Linked DNA regions of Homo sapiens: region 1 is linked to region 2. The links are contacts of gene promoters, found by promoter capture Hi-C in blood cells and fetal thymus (Javierre and others, 2016). All regions are on one chromosome and are shown on one strand. The core of a region is centred on a gene start or on the middle of the fragment in contact, and the rest is flanking DNA. Distances in the headings are between cores, read along the strand shown.

Evidence for each region. The method cuts DNA at HindIII sites, captures the fragments that hold promoters and counts their contacts. A CHiCAGO score of 5 or more calls a contact.
Region 1: a contact is called between a fragment that was not itself captured here and the fragment with the promoter of TEX12 in region 2, in 2 of 17 cell types (neutrophils and megakaryocytes). The highest score is 8.6, in neutrophils.

The regions. Positions count from the first base shown.
Region 1 is chr11:111,931,178-111,934,799 of GRCh38, forward strand. It overlaps a transcript of DIXDC1 not described here. Among named protein-coding and RNA genes, the nearest start is that of DIXDC1, 4.4 kb to the right of the region's middle. The HindIII fragment of the contact is 7,539 bases long and covers 1-3,622 here.
Region 2 is chr11:112,165,196-112,168,663 of GRCh38, forward strand. TEX12 (testis expressed 12) reads left to right here and starts at 2,177. Exons shown (of 5, transcript NM_031275.4): 1 at 2,177-2,292. TEX12-AS1 (TEX12 antisense RNA 1) reads right to left here and starts at 1,948. Exons shown (of 3, transcript XR_001748384.2): 1 at 1,868-1,948; 2 at 881-981; 3 at 167-324. The HindIII fragment of the contact is 2,594 bases long and covers 1,454-3,468 here.

The DNA.
Region 1 (3,622 bases), core at 204-2,703, 230 kb before region 2:
TTTAAAAATTTGCTGGGTGTGGTGGCATGTACCTGTAGTCCCAACTACTCAGGAGGCTGAATGAGGTGGGAGGATTGCTTGAGCCTGGGAGGTCGAGGCTGCAGTGAGCTGTGATTGTGCCTCTGCACTCTAGCCTGGGCAATAGAGTGAGACACTGTCTCAAAAAAAATTTTTTTAAAGACTGATGTCAGGCCAGGTGCGGTGGCTCACGCCTGTAATCCCAGCACTTTGGGAGGCTGAGGGGGGTGGATCACCTGAGGTCTGAGACCAGCCTGGCCAACATAGTGAAACCCCATCTTTACTAAAAAAACAAAAATTAGCTGGACGTGGTGGCGGACGCCTGTAATCCCAGCTGCTCGAGAGGCTGAGGCAGGAGAATCACTTGAACCCGGGAGGCAGAGGTTGCAGTCAGCTGAGATCGTGCCAATGCACTCCAGCCTGGGTGACAGATTGAGACTCCATCCCAAAATAAATAAATAAATAAATAATTAAAAAAAGACTACATCAAAGACTGTCAACATTTAAAATAATAAATTACCTCGTACAACAATTGTAGCGTCAGATTTTGTATACATCTTTCAGAAGGCAGCTGGACATCAGTTAGGAGTTAGGTCCTTGATAGAAATCAGGCTACCTGTTGCAATGAGACCTTGAATCTTGCAGAAAGATGATTTGATGTTAGTGTAATTACTGATGTGGAGCTCTGACACCTGATCAACTGATAGCCCAGAGGCATAGGGGTGCATTTTCAGTGCAGTCGTAGAGAAACTCAAGTGTCACTTCCAAAATATCCACCAGATGTCGCTAGTCTTAATATAATACTCACCCACAGGCTAGCTGGCAGATAACCTTTTTTTTTTTTTTTTTTTTTTGAGACAGAGTCTCACTCTGTTCCCAGGCTGGAGTGCAGTGGCACGATCTCAGCTCACTGCAACCTCTGCCTCCCGGGTTTGAGTGATTTTCCCACCTCAGCCTCCAGAGCAGCTGGGACTACAGGCGTAGGACACCACGCCTGGCTAATTTTTTTATTTTTTATTTTGGTAGAGATGGGGTTTCACCATGTTGGCCAGACTGGTCTCTCAACTCCTGACTTCAAGTGATCCTCCTGCCTCGGCCTCCCAAAGTGTTGGGATTACAGGCGTGAGCCACCACGCCTGGCCACTGGCAGATAACTTTTGAAATGTGAATTTTAAAACTTCATGTGAAAAAAGAAAAAAAATCCATAACCCAGGAATAGGTTAAAAAAATCATGTAGAAAATTAGCCGGGCGTGGTGGCGGACGCCTGTAGTCCCAGCTACTTGGGAGGCTGAGGCAGGAGAATGGCGTGAACCTGGGAGGTGGAGCTTGCAGTGAGCCGAGATCGCTCCACTGCACTCCAGCTTGGGCGACAGAAGCGAGACTCCGTCTCAAAAAAAAAAAAAAAAGAAAAAATCATGTAGAATATTTTCACATATCTGCTTTGGTGTGGTTTATATTAAGCACTAGCATCTGGTGATTACTTTGGCGACATCCTACTCTAGTCTTTCACCATTCTGTCTTTCTCCCTTCTTCTGCCCACTCAGTCTGTCACATTCATCATGTATACTCTTTCCTCACATACTAGTCATCGGATTCTCAGTTTTACTAGTCTTCCTTTTACTATTCTTCCCTCCAGTCTTGTTTCTTGCCCCATGTGTTATGTGTATATTTATGTGTAACTGTCAGTTATTCAAGTTTTTGCTAAAAGAATAAGACCTGGCATATAATGACTCATAAGAGGTGCTCAGTATCTATTTAATGGATGTTTAATGAAACAATGTATGAATGAATGAGAGGAAAATACAGGATACTAAAAATTATTTATATTTGGCTTGAGAATACAGTAAAAGAGATAAAGATTCACATTCCTAAATTACGTATAATTAAGTACTAAATGACACAGTATAGAACAAGCTAGACCATTTAGAGTTTTCTTTTGGTTTTTTTTTGAGACGGAGTTACGCTCTTGTTGCCCAGGCTGGTGTGCGATGGTGTGATCTCGGCTCACCTCAACCTCCACCTCCCAGGTTCAAGCGATTCTTCTGCCTCAGCCTCCAGATTAGCTGGGATTACAGGCATGCGCCACCATGCTCGGCTAATTCTGTATTTTTAGTAGGGAGGGGGTTTCTCCATGTTGGTCAGGCTGGTCTCGGACTCCTGACCTCAGGTGATCTGCCCGCCTTCCGCCTTGGCCTTCCAATATACTGGGATTACAGGCGTGAGCCACCGCTCCCGGACCTTTTCTCTTTTTTTGAGGCAGTGTCTCACTCTTGCCCAGGCTGAAGTGGAGTGGTGCAGTCACGGCTCACTGTAGCCTCAACCTCCCGGGCTCAAGCGATCCTCCCACCTCAGCCTCCTGAGTAGCTGGGACTATGGGCACATACCACCATGAGTGGCTAATTTTTGTATTTTTTTGTATTAATTTTGTAATTTTTTTGTGCCACTGCATTCTAGCTTGGGCAGCAGAGTGAGATGATCTTGTCTCTCTCTCTCTCAAAAAAAAAAAAAAAAAAAAGACATTATTCCAAGGGTCATTTAAAATATTTTTATTGACAATTGTAATTATTTGTTTATTCAAACTGCCTTTCTGTTTCTTTATAGTCATGAATTATTGGCCATAATAGTTGTGTTACATTTTATATAGATTTGAATTTCACACTTCTTATTTTTATGCAGAGAGAAGTCACAGGCAATATTTTCACCAAATGATGGTTTTATTTTAAGGCTCAAAGTCTTACTTAGGCTAACATCTTACTCTATTTATTAACAGACGTGATTAATGTTTCTCCCACTGGCTCATTCATTCCTTCAAGTAAAAATAGATTTACATTTTTGTAATGTAATCTTGCATTCTTATGTAATGTAATGTTGCATTCTTCATATGACAGTATTGCATAATGGTTAAGAACCTGGACTTTGGCTTCACCATTTAGTAGCTATTGGGTCTGTGACAAATTACTTCTCCAAACCTCTCTTTCTTTATATGTAAAAATCCTACTGTTTATGGTAATTGTGACAGTCAAATGAGCTAATACTAAGTGCTGAGTACAGGGTTTGGCACACAGTAAAAGCTCAATTTTGCTATTATTACTGTTATATATAGATATTTGGGTAGCTTTTAGTTTGTGGGGGAAATGTCTGCCATTATTGTCAAAATAATGCAGGACTGAGGAAGCCAGGTATAAGTTCAGAAATCAGGCAGCATGGCAGGGATATGCAGAAAGCAGTTTGCTGGGTTTCTTTGCCTCTGCTTCCAGGCAGAGTGAATGACAGCCCTGCAGCAGCAGAAGTGGTTCCAGCTACCCAGATGGCTTGCAGTTTTCCCACATACAAACACTATGGGATGCCTGATCATTGTCCCAGTTATTCCTAGTTCTTGTAGCTAGCCCTCATACTCTCCCAGCTCTTATGTTGATATTACAACATGGTGGGATCGGGAGGATGGAAGGAATACTAAATGTTAGTGTTGTTTGGAGCTAAAGCTCAGTTCTTCATCTGAGCCACTTTGTAAGGCCAACTAAGATAACTGTGGTGAACATCTCTTCTGAGCAAAAAAAAAAATGGACATTATATGGTCTGACAGGAATTTTGTGCTTTTTCCAA
Region 2 (3,468 bases), core at 927-3,426:
TTAAAAACAAGATAGGGTTTTCATTTCGGGAAGTCATAAAAACATCATGTCCTTCAACAGTGATTACAAAGGAAGTCTGTGGCAGGGTGGCTGGAAGTGCTTGGTGTGGTGACTATCAGAAGAAAAAAAATAGTACCTTTAAGAAGTATATGATAAGAATACATACGTGACTCAAGTTGAAATAGTAAGTTTTCACCTTCCAACTGTAGAGTCCAATTGGGCCAATTAACATGAAAGCACGAAGTGGGATCAAGTAGTGATCAGAAGCAGCACACTAAGCAAGCTCTAATTTTAAATATTCCATTGCCAGTGAATTTTCTCCAGCTGTAAAGATGCAGAATGTGTAATTTACACATTTTGAAGTTTTGGGACAAACACTTTTTTCTTTGATATAGAGCAACAAATGTCTCAGTGTCCTTTGTACTTCATAGAGTTGTTTTCAAAGATTAAATGAGATAATGATGACAGCCCTTTGAATATTTTAAAGCTCTAGATAACAATATCATCTCACTTATTCCTACCCATTTAGCTTATGCAATGGAAGTTAATATTTAAAAAATAAAAGAAAATAAAATGTCCATGGTGTTCTCTTAATCTGATGAAAGCATTTATGCATTAGGTGGAATCATTTTTCTTGGAAATATTTTAAGAATCAGATGGACAACCACCTGTTTAAATATCATACAGTGTGAAGGCTGTGAGATGAATTCCATGAGTATTTCCCAGACCCTTGGGTTTAATGAACCATTAAAAATAATAACAGCAACCATGATAATAAGGAGGAGGAGATAAACACAGTGGACAACTCTACATTTTACCAAGGAAGGACACTAAAAATGTAAGAATTTTTAATCTTTTTATTTCATAAAACTTATCTCACCTGTGCCCCCCAAATTAGGAAGGACATGGTATCAGAATAAAGCACAGTCACTTTAAAGTGAATATATTTGACTTGATGAAAACTTTATACTGCTGAAGAGTCTGAAACAATAAAGATAAAAATTAAGGCAAACTAAAACTTCATTCCTTTTCCCTTCATTTTACCACAGAGGGTAAAAATTCAACACAGATTGCTATTGTTCTGGGACAGTGTTTGAGACTCCTTACTTCGCCATAGTTATCTAGGCTAGTATTATGTGGCCTATATTTCACAATATTAGCAACTCAGATTAAACACATTGAGCGCTTATTTTCTAGGAACTTATTTAAAACAACCGGCTTCTTCACAAACAGCAAATAAATATACACACACAGAATACTTCCAAGACTTAATGATAACTAACATTTAATCAAGCAAAAGGAAAAAAAAAACCTTAGTAATGTATGTAAATGTTAAATATAGTTCTCTAAGATGTAAGATTTTGTACCTGGAGCTTATGGATGTGTGTTATTGACCTTTGTGTTATGAGGTAATTTGCTTTTTTTTTTCTTCCACATCCACTAACTGGGCGTAAGCTTGGAATGTATATCTTTGAAATTGCAGGTCAAAGCCTCCGCATTAAAGCACCCGATGAGGCAAAGCTACAATTATGTGAGCCATGTGTGTTATGCAACACTTTTTGATAGCTGTTGCCAATTAGACTTAACTTATTGACACACCCGGGGAAGAATTTTCTAAGAAGGCGTGATTCTGAACGTTTGGTTGCACCAAAGAGGAAGAGGGGGCAGTAACTGAGGCTCTGGATCTAAAAGCCTTGCTTGTGGGCCAGGGGAACACGTGATTAAAGCCTTCCTGCAAACAGAGCATCTGCAAACGCAGTTTTAAACCCTTCCTGCAAACAAACCAAGTAAATTTTACTCGAAAAGAGGCCGTGGATGTGCTATTTTGTGTTCCTTTGCTGAGATTCTAAGCTGCTGGGACACACACCGGCCTTGCTTTGGCAAGTCTTCCTTGTTCTTTCTTGACCAGTTTCAGATTTTTTCCTGGTTCAAACACACACAGGGTGGCAGGGAGAGATTTTTGTTTCACGAGTATTCCAAGTGGAGGGGAAAGAGCGGGAGAAAACCGGGAAAAAGCTGCCTTTCCGTGGGGCCTGGCTCTGGGAGGCTACGGTGGGGAAGTTGGGGGGGGTGGTGGTGGGAGAGCTGTCACGTGACTCGTGCAGGGGCTGCTGGGAGTGCGGCGCGCTTCCCACCTCCACCCCCGAAGTCCGAGCACCCCGCGCCCGGGGTCTTCACTCCCTCGCGTTCGCTGACGAGGAAGGTCCCCATACCGCGAAGTACATTGGCCTTGGGGTGGGGCTGGAGGGATGGGCGCCTGTGAGAATGTGACGGACTGTGACACAAGGAAGGGTGCGAGGATGGAAACTTCCTCTGAGGGGCTCTAGTGGGGCGGAAACAACAGTAGGGAGGAAGTGCGGAGGGGCGGCGGGAAGTGAGGGAAAATGGAGGTGAAATGGCCTGAGGGGCTAGGATCGCGTTGAGAAGAGGGAGAAGACTAGAAGGAGACAGCTGCATGGGGCAGAGGGGACAGTGCTTAGTAACAGCCAGGTCACTAAGCCTAAGATGGCAGAGCCAGGGCAGTGGTCAGTGTTTGGCACACGACGAAGACCAGCCCGTCCACCAGGCCTGGATCTGCTGAGGCCTTGAGCCATGACAGGAAAACGAACTTATTTTTGCAGAAACAGTTACTTGATTATAAGTTTTCGTTTGACATAGGTGCACAGTGTTACTTGGGGAGAGAAGAGAAGGGGGTGAAGGGGAAAGGGAAAATTAGAAGGGGAAGGGAAGAGAGAAAAATCTGCCTGTTGGCTTCTCTGAAGTATTTTCCAACTCCCAAGGCAAAGTTAGCACTGCTGTGCATGTGTAGTATTTTCTAGATACTATTAATACTATTACAGCACGTAAACTTACATACTATAAAGGTACTGGCAGGAATGGAGACGTACGATACAGAATTTACTTAACAAGCATCATTCAAATTTGTTGTTGCTCTTTCTGTCTTCTATATATGCATATTTTATAGGACTAATCAAACAGATGTGTTAAAGTTACCCAAATCAGCATCGTTTCTCAAAAACAACAAAGTCAATTGATAACTTGAATATGGACAGGGCTCCCCTCATCTCAAAGACACAGAGACTATACCCTTCCAGGTTTCAACATTTGGACTCCTAGGGAAAATCCCTTCCGAATTTATGGAAAAGTAAAAGTAAAATTTGAAGCTACTTTAAAGTAAGGTTGGACAGTGGGAATAACCTCAGACTCGAGTGAGATCTCGGTTCTAATTTAGCTCAGTCTTACTGGTGTCACTTGATCCACCGTCACTGTCCCTGTTTTCTCACTTGTAAAAAATGAGATTGAATTAGATGAACTGTAAGACCTGTTTAAACATTAAGATTTTGTGAAGATAGAAGAATCCTTTTTTTTTTTTTGAGGTGGAGTCTCGCTCTGTTGCCCAGGCTGGAGTGCAATGGCACAATCTCGGCTCACTGCAACCTCCCTCTCCTGGGTTCAAGCGATTCTCTC